4 separate regions of the Homo sapiens genome follow, and regions 1, 3 and 4 are each linked to region 2. Evidence: promoter capture Hi-C in 16 types of primary human blood cells and fetal thymus (Javierre and others, 2016). All regions are on one chromosome and are shown on one strand. The core of a region is centred on a gene start or on the middle of the fragment in contact, and the rest is flanking DNA. Distances in the headings are between cores, read along the strand shown.

The links. Contacts are between HindIII fragments. The CHiCAGO score rates a contact against its expected background, and 5 or more counts as called.
Region 1: the fragment with the promoter of C16orf54 here is called in contact with a fragment that was not itself captured in region 2 in 7 of 17 cell types (M1 macrophages, activated CD4 T cells, naive CD8 T cells and 4 more); the score reaches 7.9 in M1 macrophages.
Region 3: the fragment with the promoter of ZNF771 here is called in contact with a fragment that was not itself captured in region 2 in 7 of 17 cell types (fetal thymus, total CD4 T cells, naive CD8 T cells and 4 more); the score reaches 9.3 in fetal thymus.
Region 4: a contact is called between the fragment with the promoter of SPN here and a fragment that was not itself captured in region 2, in 10 of 17 cell types (naive CD4 T cells, activated CD4 T cells, naive CD8 T cells and 7 more). The highest score is 7.5, in naive CD4 T cells.

The regions. Positions count from the first base shown.
Region 1 is chr16:29,744,633-29,747,332 of GRCh38, reverse strand. C16orf54 (chromosome 16 open reading frame 54) reads left to right here and starts at 1,343. Exons shown (of 2, transcript NM_175900.4): 1 at 1,343-1,422; 2 at 2,382-2,700. The coding sequence starts at 2,382. LOC124903673 (a long non-coding RNA gene) reads right to left here and starts at 2,086. Exons shown (of 2, transcript XR_007065046.1): 1 at 1,948-2,086. RefSeq lists enhancers at 407-476, 1,004-1,053. The HindIII fragment of the contact is 10,190 bases long and covers 1-2,700 here.
Region 2 is chr16:30,049,363-30,052,062 of GRCh38, reverse strand. It overlaps a transcript of TLCD3B not described here. Among named protein-coding and RNA genes, the nearest start is that of ALDOA, 15 kb to the left of the region's middle. The HindIII fragment of the contact is 2,534 bases long and covers 125-2,658 here.
Region 3 is chr16:30,406,269-30,408,968 of GRCh38, reverse strand. ZNF771 (zinc finger protein 771) reads right to left here and starts at 1,363. Exons shown (of 3, transcript NM_001142305.2): 1 at 1,305-1,363; 2 at 775-924. The coding sequence starts at 915. RefSeq lists silencers at 1,228-1,437, 1,460-1,639. The HindIII fragment of the contact is 8,204 bases long and covers 1-2,624 here.
Region 4 is chr16:29,661,812-29,664,511 of GRCh38, reverse strand. SPN (sialophorin) reads right to left here and starts at 1,265. Exons shown (of 2, transcript NM_003123.6): 1 at 1,196-1,265; 2 at 1-817. The coding sequence starts at 783. RefSeq lists silencers at 161-280, 1,541-1,600 and enhancers at 1,781-1,860, 2,501-2,550. The HindIII fragment of the contact is 6,496 bases long and covers 1-2,308 here.

The DNA.
Region 1 (2,700 bases), core at 94-2,593, 300 kb after region 2:
AGGCATGAGCCACCTCGCCCAGCCCAGGGATTTCTATCTATTCTTCCACCACCCTGGCCACTACATGCTCACCCACACATACATTGGTCATGCGACTTTGGTCATGAAATCTCTTTTCTTTAAGCCTTACTTTTGTCATCTGTGGATGAGTCAAACTAGAGAATCTCAGAAAGTCACCTGGACTCCAGAGCCTGATGACATCTTGTCACACTCTGCTCCAGGCTCCTCCCACCCTCAGCAGCAGGAAAGAGGGACAGACATGAGGATGGTCAGGGTTTTGGAAACAGGCCCACGCCTGTTTTTATACCCTGGACTCCTCTCAGAGGCTTGACATTTTTGTTACCCAAGCCTCACCTCACTGATATTTTCCAACCAAAATGGGGGCTAAATGGTCTGAAGAGAGAGAGACTTATGTTAATTAAAAGTATGAGGCAGGGGCCAGTGTGGTAGCTCACACCTGTAATCCCAGCACTTTGGGAGGCTGAGGCAGGAGGATCTCTTGAGGCCAGGAGCTTGAGACCAGCCTGGGCAACATAGCAAGAGCCCATCTCTACCAGAAAAAAAAAAAAAAGGTGTGAAGCAAGCTGGCCAAGCAGGGGGTGCCTGTGGGGGCTGCATGGCAGGAGCAGATCTGGGGAGGCACCGTGGATAAGACAAGGCAGGATGGGGTGGGGCATCCTCCCAGGAGGAACGGGGGAGGCACCATGGTTCTCTGGGAATGTACGGGCTAAAGTCCCAGTGTCCTATTTCTTTTTCTTTTCTTTTCTTTTCTTTTTTTTTAAGACGGAGTCTCACTCTGTTGCCCAGGCTGGAGTGTGGTGGCACGATCTCAGCTCACTGCAACCTCCGAGTCCCGGGTTCAAGCGATTCTCCCTGCCTCAGCCGCCTGAGCAGCTGAGATTACAAGTGCCCGTCACCATGCCCAGCTAATTTTTGTATTTTTCAGTAGAGATGGGGTTTCGCCATGTTGGCAGGCTGGTCTCGAACTCCTGACCTCAGGTGACTTGCCCACCTTGACCTCCCAAAATGCTGGGATTACAGGGGTGAGCCACTGTGCCTGGCCCCGGCGTCCTCTTTCTCAGCTTTTCGGTGAATGTTCTGGGGCTCAGGGCCTGGCTATGGGGTGACACTAAGTTCAACAGAACCATTGCCCATTCCAGCCCCACCTTACCCCAGGAAAAGCCTCCTCACCGCAGTGACCACATCCCCTTGGGTTGCTTTGGAAACAAACACTCCCCAGGGGCAGACGAGTTGGGGCACAGTTGCCCAGCAACAGGCGGTGCCCTCCCTTCCGCCTTCATCCGAGGCCGGGCCTCTACGTCTGAGAGGCGGACCGCCCTGCACCCTCCAAGCCTGCACCTCTTAGTCCAGCACCAGGAAGAGTGGCTCTAGGAGGGAGAGGAGCCCAGGGACTGACCCAAGGTGAGTTGAGGGGTGCAGGAGGCCCCCTGCAGATGGAGGATGTGGGGGACAGAGAGGTGTGCAGAGACAAACGAGAGATAGAGACAGGCCAGAGCCTGGGCAAAGCTGGGGAGCCCAGGAGGGGTGCAGAGGCGCCTCCGGAGGCCTGGCCCGGCCCGGCCCGGCAGCAGATTCCGTGGAGCCTATGAGAGCAAGATCAAGTCCGAGGAGAATGGTGAGGGGCGAAGGAGCCTCAAGGGGCCAGCGGAGGTGCTGGCGGCAGGCGGTGGGGGAGACACACGCAGGGGAGCCAGTGGGAGGGGAGGTTCTCATTTCTTCACCCACCACTTCCTCTCTAGGTCTGAGCAAGACTTGAGGGGGCCGAGTGGGGAGGAAAGAAGCCCTTGAGACCTTTCTTGTCTGAGGCACCCTGGGGTCTGGGAGGGAAATGGGGATTCTGGAAAGGCCTGGAGAGCCAGGCAGGAGGGCCTGGCTGTGCCCCGAGGTAGGCTGCCTGTCCTCCCACCCCACCTGGCTCACGCTTACCCTTTCTGGTCCCTCTTGCTTCTCTGTCTCTCCAGAATGTTCTTTTTCATTTTTGAGAAAGGGTCTTGCTCTATTGCCCAGGCTGGAGGACAGTGGTGCAATCTGGGGTCACTGCAGCTTCAAACTCCTGGGCTCAAGTAATCCTCCCACCTCAGCTTCCTGTGTAGCTGGGACTACAGGTGTGAGCCACCACACCCAGCTAGTTTTTAAATTATTTTTAGAGATGAGGTTTCACTGTGTGTCCAGGCTGGTCTTGAACTCCTGGGCTCAAGTGATCCTCCCGCCTCGACCTCTCAAAGTGCTGGGATTCCAGGCATGAGCCCCCATGCCCAGCCCTTCTCCCAGGCTTTCCTGGACACCTGCTGCCTCTCTCTCATCTTGGTTGTGCCCCCTCTGCCTCATTTACTTCCTCTTCTCACCCCTGTGTCTCTCAGATGCCGTTGACTCCAGAGCCGCCCTCTGGGCGCGTGGAGGGGCCCCCCGCATGGGAAGCAGCCCCATGGCCCTCACTGCCCTGTGGGCCCTGCATCCCCATCATGCTGGTCCTGGCCACCCTGGCTGCGCTCTTCATCCTCACCACCGCTGTGTTGGCTGAACGCCTGTTCCGCCGTGCTCTCCGCCCAGACCCCAGCCACCGTGCACCCACCCTGGTGTGGCGCCCAGGAGGAGAGCTGTGGATTGAGCCCATGGGCACCGCCCGAGAGCGCTCTGAGGACTGGTATGGCTCTGCGGTCCCCCTGCTGACAGATCGGG
Region 2 (2,700 bases), core at 142-2,641:
TGTGGTCTTGCTATGTTGTTAAGGCTGGTCTTGAACTCCTGGGCTCAAGCAGTCCTCCAGCCTCAGCCTCCCAGGTAGCTGGGATTACAGGCATAAGCCACCTTCAGTAGGATCTGCTGAAGCTTCCTGAACCAGTGTGTAGGGTCTCACATTTCCACAGCTTTGCAGTTGCTGATCCCTCTGCCTGGAACACCCTCTGTCTTCCCCTCAAACCTCTTCCTCATCCCTCAAGCACGTCCTCAGTTTTGCCTCTGTGAGGTCTCCCTGCCAACCTCAGGCAGAGGTGGCTGCTTTGGACTGTGAATTCCCACAGCATCCTACAGATACTGTTGTTCTCGCACTTCTCACAAGATACTTGAATTCCTCACTTCCATGTCTGGCTCCACAATTAGACTGCAAGTGTCTGGGGCCTGGTCTGAGTCATCTCCGTATCCTGAGCTCTAGTACTTGGCCTAGCCCTGGGAGCCTTGGTGAATACTCACTGATTCTTTTTCTTTCTTTCTTTCTTTTTTCTTTTCTTTTCTTTTTTTTTTTTTTTTTTGAAACGGAGTTTTGCTCTTGTCGCCCAGGCTGGAGTGCAATGGTGTGATCTCAGCTCACTGCAACCTCCGCCCTGGATTCAAGCAATTCTCCTGCCTCAGCTTCCAGAGTAGCTGGAAGTGCCACCATGCCCAGCTAATTTTGTATTTTTAGTAGAGACGGGGTTTGTCCATGTTGGTCAGGCTGGTCTCGAACTCCCGACCTTAGGTGTTCTGCCCGCCTTGGCCTCCCAAAGTGCTGGGATTACAGGTGTGAGCCACTGCGCCTGGCCTGTTTTTTTCTTTTAATAAAGTAGACATGGGGTCTCACTATGTTGGCCAGGCTAGTCTCCAACTCCTGCCTCAAATGATCCTCCCACCTCGGCCTCCCAGGTTGCTGGTATTACAGGCCAGAGCCACTGCACTCAGCCAATACTCACTGATTCTATGAATGAATTGAAACCAAACACCATCCACGAATGAAGCATTGTTTTCCACACGTCCTAATTTCCTTGGCTTTCAAGGCACTCAGACCTCCCCGTTTCATTCCTAACCTTTTTAGATCACACACACACAGACACTTGCACACACCCACACATGCACGCTCACACAAGCACCCCTCTCTATGGAGGCCTCCGACTTCCTAAACGATGGCTGAATCCTGGCATTTTCCCCTAAAAACAATGCCACCATATACCTATTTTTGTCCATGTTCTCCACCCCAACATACCTCACCACAGCTGCTGCTCCTGGGGTTTCCTACACCATGAGGCAGCCACGGAAACTGCCAGGGGCTGTGTCCCTGGATCCAAATCTTCCCTCCCACTGTCAACCATACTGAGGTGGTCTCAGCCACCCTCTTGGCCACCCCTGGCCCTCTCAGAGGGCGTTTCAAGCCCAGAAAACAGAAGTCTAGCTGTTGCTAATGTCACCATTATTGATCCTAAAGAAGATTGTCTTCTTAGGCTGTCTTCCGGTTTTTGTTTTTGTTTTTGTTTTTTTTGAGACAGAGTCTCACTCGGTAGCCCAGGCTGGAGTGCAATGGCACAATCATGGCTCACCACAACAGCCTCGACCTCCTGGCTCAAGGGATCCTTCCACCTCAGTCTCCCAAGTAGCTGAGACTACAGGTGCATGCTACGACACCCAGCTAATTTTTAAAATTTTTTGTATAGACGGGGTCTCACTGTATTGCTCAGGCTGTTTTTGAACTCCTGGGCTCAGGCGATCCTCCTGCCTCAGCCTCTCGAATTGCTGGGATTACAAGCGTGAACCACTGTGCCCGGCCTTGGGCGGTCTTATTGTCTGATGGAATCCTGAGGACCAAGTTGAGGCCAGTTCTCACCTCAGCCCTACAAAAGGCCTCCAGGAACACATATTCTGCATATTCTGCCAACAGAGAGACTTCAGCCTTGGCAAGGCCCCTGGACACGTCCGTGGCCTGCAGTGCCCAGACTCGCTGGTGCTGGTGTTTTGTTCCTACCATGGGCTCATACATTATGCAGGAGCACGGGCAGTGCCCCAGGCTTGTGTGTTGCCAGGCAAGCCAAGACAAGGGATGATGTATGCACCCCACTTTGCCAAGGCCCCATTTCTTTTCTTTCTCTTTTTTTTTTTTTTTGAGATGGAGTCTTGCTCTGTTGCCCACGCTAGAGTGCAGTGGTGCGATCTCAGCGCACTGCAACCTCTGCCTCCCAAGTTGAGTGATTCTCCTATCTCAGCCTCCCAAATAGCTGGGATTACAGACGCATGCCACCATGCCCGGCTAATTTTTGTATTTTTAGTAGAGACAGGGTTTCACCATGTTGGCCAGGCTAGTCTTAAACTCCTGACCTTGTGATTTGTCCACGTCGGCCTCCCAAAGTGCTGGGTTACAGATGTGAGCTACTGCGCCTGGCTGTGCCGAGGCCCCACTTCTATCCACATCACAACATTTGCTGGGGGCAGAGAAAAACTGACTTCACAATAGCCAGCTAACCGCAAAGTCTCCTCTCCCGAAGTTGGAAGCTGGAGATGTCAGATGTATCATATGTAGTTCCGCACTTCCCCTAGGAAAGGGCAGACAGGATTGTATACTTCCAATAATCGTGGGGTGGGTGGGAGATCAGAGATGCAGAGTTCCCAGAAGATGAAAGAAGCTTCAGCAGGCTTGGACGTGGGAAGGGACCTGGCAGTTCTGATT
Region 3 (2,700 bases), core at 114-2,613, 360 kb before region 2:
CAGGTGTAGTGGTGCATGCCTGTAGTCCCAGCTACTTGGGAGGCTGAGGTGGGAGGATCACCTGAGCCCAGGGAAGTCAAGGCTGCAGTGAGCTGTACTGCACTACAGCTTGGGTGACTGAATGAGACCCTGTCTCAAACAATAACAACAGTAATAATAAAAGAGCCATTTCCTCTGACTGGGTCCATCACCCCACTTCTGACCCCAGACTCCTACTAGTCTCACATAAGCCATCCTTTTACTTTGAGACCTGTGGCCAGTTACCAAACTGCCCTGGGCCTCAGTCTCCTCATCTGTAAAATGGAATAAATGCTACCGACATCATAGAATCGAGGTGCTTAGAACAGTGCCTGGCACATAGAAAATGCTAGGCAAGGGTTAGCTATTGTTACTGTTGCTGTTGAACTAACCTGACCTTTCCCCAACCTCTAAATCTGAGTTAAGTTCCCACTTCTAGGCTTCATCATCCCCCTGTACCTGCAGCCATCACACGGGATTCTAACTGTGTGGTTACCCTTCAGTCTAACATCAAGCTCCATGGGGGATCCAAGGACGGAGTTTAATCTCCTGCACCCAGCAGGAAGCCTGGGACAGTAGGCGTGACTTTTGTATGATGGAAGCCCAGGCAGTAGGGCAGAAGGATGGGCCAATCCTGAGGTTTTAGATCCGAGATTCTGGGAAAAGTAGGGGCAAGATCCCTGGCTTCTATCTGAGGGAGGCTGGGCCTGGACCAGGTTTGGGGACAGTGTGCCCCAGGGTGTGTGTGACACATACCTCCTTGTTGTCCATGGGGATCTTGAGTTTCACCACCTCATACTTCTCCTCACCCTCATCCTCCTCACCCTTCACCAGCAGCACCATCTCCTCCTGCATCTCTTCCTCCTCCTCTTCCTCTGCCTGCTGTTCGCCAGGCATCTTGGTGTCCTGAGGCGGGGAGCTGGATCAGAAGCTCAGGACCCGCCCCCCCCCACCCCCCCCCCCGCCCACCGTGGCCCTGGCCCAGCAAGGCAGTGCAGCCGTGGCTTCTCCCGCCCTGCCCTGGTCTCCGAATCTGGTCCTCTCCCGTCCACCCCAGCCCGGCCCCACGCTCTGGCACAGCCCCGGGACCAGCTCCGAGGGCTCGCGTTCACCCCACTCATCCCAGCATTCAAGGCCTTGAACAGTTCGAATCTCCAGCCCCCGCAAGTCGCCACCATCCTTGCGCTGAGTCACTCCCCAGGGCCCGGGTCGGCGACCTGGAGCTCTGGGGCACGGGCTGGAGGCGGGATCGGGGCGGAAACCCCGGGGAGGGGGTGCGCACTCACCAGCCGAAGGTTCGGCACTCGCGGTGCCCCAGGCCTGGGCGCCGGGCGGCTGGGCACTCAGCGAGGCCGCGGCTCCGGGGGCGGGGAGGGGGCGGGACCGCAGGGACGGCCGGTCATTGGTCCGAACATATAGCCCCACCCCCTGGGGCGGAGCCCGAAGGACCCAGGCGTCCGGCCCAAACGGCTCGGAGAGGGCGGCGAGCTCAGACTTGGCGTCCTCCGCAGTCCCCCGACTCCCAAGCACCTGGAGCCGCCCCAGCCCGGCGTTCAAGGTCCTTGCCGCCGAGTTCCAACCTAACCTCGCGGCCCGTCTCCTGGGGCCGGCTTGGAGGTCTCCGCTGCGCCCAGTGCCTCTGCTCCGCCCGAAATAGGCCACGTGCGCTCCCGCCCCGGCCTGGGCCTCTCCCTGGCGCCCCGCCTGGAGGGCGGACCCTGTTGCCTCCTCACTTCTTCCATTCCCTCTTTATCTCCTCTGCCGTCTTTTCTCCATCTTTCTCGGCTTCGCCTATTCCGCTGGCCTCTGGGATATCCTTGAATACATCCTAACCAATTCAACATCCACCCAAGCTACCGCTGTCGCGTCATGCGTGGGGTGCTTACCATGCGCCAGCGCTGTTCAGCGTCTTACATACCTGGTCTCATTTGATCCGCATAACGATGGGTCCTGATCCATTTTACAGATGAGCTCACTGAAGTTCAGGGAGGTAAACTGATTTGCCTAAGTTACACGATAAGGATGTCATAGCATCCCTGACAATCAGTAGCCTAGGTGAACAACAGCCCAAAGCTAAATCCAGTCCACAGGGGTACCTTGTTTGGCCCTTAGGGTATTTTTACTTTTAAAAAATCTTTTCGGACGGGCACGGCGGCTCACGCCTGTAATCCCAGCACTTTAGGAGGCCGAGGCGGGCGGATCACGAGGTCAGGAGATAGAGACCATCCTGGCTAACACGGTGAAACCCCGACTCTACTAAACAAAATACAAAAAATTAGCTGGGCGTGGTGGCGGGCACCTGTAGTGCCAGCTACTCGGGAGGCTGAGACAGGAGAATGGCGTGAACCCGGGAGGCGAGCTTGCAGTTAGCCGAGATCGCGCCACTGCGCTCCAGCCTGGGCGACAGAGCGAGACTCCGTCTCAAAAAAAAAAAAAAAAAAAAAAAAAAAAAATCGTTTCAAAGCCGGGCGCGGTGGCTCATGCCTGTAATCCCAGCACTTTGGGAGGCGGAGGCCGGTGGATCACTTGAGGTCAGGATTTCGAGACCAGCCTAACCAACATGGTGAAACCCCGTCTCTACTAAAAATACAAAAATTAGCCAAGCTTGGTGGTGCATGCCTGTAATCCCAGCTACTCGAGAGGCTGAGGCACGAGAATTGCTTGAACTGGGGAGGCAGTGGT
Region 4 (2,700 bases), core at 16-2,515, 390 kb after region 2:
AAGCACAGCCACTGGCAGCATGCCTCGTGAGTTCTCATCTGGGTTCCGGAAGGGCACAGTGCTTGCGTTGGTGGAGGTCGTTGGAGACATCATTGTAGATAGTTTTACGCTAGAGACCTGGGGTCCACTGGCCCCGCTGGAGGGCTCCAGAGAGCCAGTTGTCATGGTAACAGGGGGTCCAGTGGTCCCAGTGGAGGTCTCCAGAGAGTCAGTTGCCATGGTAACAGGGGGTCCAGAGGTGCCTTTGGAAGTCTCCAGAGAGACAGTTGCCATGGTAAGAGGGGGTCCAGAGGTGCCTCTGGAGGTCTCCAGAGAGCTAGCTGCCGTGGTAACAGGGGCTCCACTGGTCCTACTGGAGGTTTCTGGAGAGTTCGTTGTTATGGTTCCACCTGTCACGGTGTGGGATCCTAGAGAGTTTGCTGTTATGGGAACAGCAGGATGACTGGTTGCATGAGGGGTTTCCTGGGGCACTGATGACATCTTGATGGAAACTTCCTGGTAGGTTGTTGGCTCAGGTAAAGGGGAACCAGTGCTGGCACCAATGGAAGTCCAAAGAGGGGATCCCTCATTGATGGAAGTTGAGGGAGGTAGGGCTGAGGTCTGGTCCCCAGTGCTGTCGGCCTTAGGGTCACTTGTTATTGAAGTGGTGTACATCTTTGAGCTCAGGGGCTCGCTAGTAGAGACCAAAGGCTCTCCGGAGGTGGGTGTCTGCACTGCTGTTGTGCTCCCCAGAGCGTCTGGGCTTACCACCAGCACCCCAAGGAGAAGGAGAAGCGTGGCCATTTCCAGGCAAACAGGCAGGAGCAAGAGCTGGGACCTGCAGGTGGGCAGCCGGAGAAGCAGAACACGCGGGAGTTGCCGGAGGACCTGGCCGGGCCTCCCCTCTGCCCACTTCCCTGCCAACGGCCAGGCCCAACCTGCGGTTTAACGGTTTTTTCCATGCTGGCTTTTACTGTTATCAGAAATGACAGAGGAACAGATGCTGGCAGCTCCCCCATCAGCCCCATCCTGAGGCTCCCTCCAGCCTCAGCAGCTTAGATTCCAGCAGTGACCAGCCCCTCCTGGCCTTCCCTGACCCTGTGCAGCCCAATGGCTCCCAATCTCTTCCCATCATAACCTGTCAGAGTCTTTTCAAGCCACAGGCACATTCCCAGGCCCACTGAGGCCCCTACCCCACCAAGTCTCACCCTCTTACCGGCTCGGCTGATAAGGACGCAGCACTGGGGCCAGGTCACTCCACCACCTCCCGAGGCTGGGGCAAGACTGGGAAGGACAGGGCCCCAAGGGGAAAGGAAGTGGGCCCTGGCTCCACCCACCCCACCCACCCCTCCATCCTGCCCCACCCGCCTGCTCCCACAGCTGCTGGGCGAAGACAGCACCATCACCTGCTCCTTCAGGGGCCAGCGGGGTGCCTGGGGGTCTGGGGCTCACCTGAGGGAGGCAGGGAAGCGTGGGATCTGGAATCAGGATTCCTGGCTCTTGGCTGAGGAATGGGATGGAAGTGGTGATGCTAGGGAGGGCTGGGCTCAGAGGTGGGTGGTGGGAATGTGAGCCTGAGAACTCAAGGGTGCAGAGGAGGAGGTGGGAGGGGAGGGTGGTTTCCTTTGCATTTGTGGTCCCCAAGCTGTTAGGCCAGGAGCTGAGTGGCGCCATTTCCTGCCCTCAGAGCTCCCAGGAAGTAGCAGGGCAAGAGGAAGCCCCCGAGTCTGGCTGGGGGCCGTGAAAACCTTTGCAGGCTGGTGAGCTCTTGACTCTGTCCGGGGAGCTGGGGGTCACCACAGTGGCCCCCAGTCACAGAGACGTGGCTAAACCAAGGTGGTTCCTACACACTGCATATGCTAGGATCTTATTTCTGCAAACTAGTAAAGATGTGGGAATCTTTTTTTTTTTTTTTAAGGCGGAGTTTAGTGCAATGGCATGATCTTGGCTCGGCTCAGCACAATGTCTGCCTCCTAGGTTCAAGCAATTCTCCTGCCTCGGCCTCCTGAGTAGCTGGGATTACAGGCTTGCACCACTGTGCCCGGCTAATTTTGTATTTTTCGTAGAGACGAGGTTTCTCCATGTTGGTCAGGCTGGTCTCGAACTCCTGACCTCAGGTGGTCCATCCGCCTCAGCCTCCCCAAGCGCTAGGATTACAGGTGTGAGCCACCGCGCCTGGCCAGATATGGGAATCTATATGGAAAACCGTCTGGAAAGATATCTACTAAGGGATTCACCTAATTGTCTTTGGATAGGTGAGAGTAGGAGGTGGGGGTATTTTCTTCTTTGAATGGTTCCCATTTCCTGACTTTCCTCTAATTAGCAAGCTTTGACTCTCGGTTTGTGTATGTTTTTGGTTTTTGTTCTTGAAAAACGAAAATCAGTCCCGGGTGTGGTGATACATTATGCTGGCAGTCCAGGCCAAAGTGGGAGGACCTCCTGAGCCCAAGAGTTTGAAACCAGCCTGGGCAACGTAGCAAAACTCCTATCACTAAAAAAATAAATAATTTTTTAAAATCAAAACTGATTTGTATATTTTAAGAGCAACATGTGCACAATAGAAGATTCTAACAGGCCCGTGGGACTGTGCCATTTCTACAAGCTGATGAGTTTGTCTGACCCAAAGACATGAGACTCCTGGGTGAGAGCCACAGGAATTAATTGCTCACACCAAGCAACAGCAGCGTGATGTTTGCATCAGTTCCCCTTACCCCAAGTCCC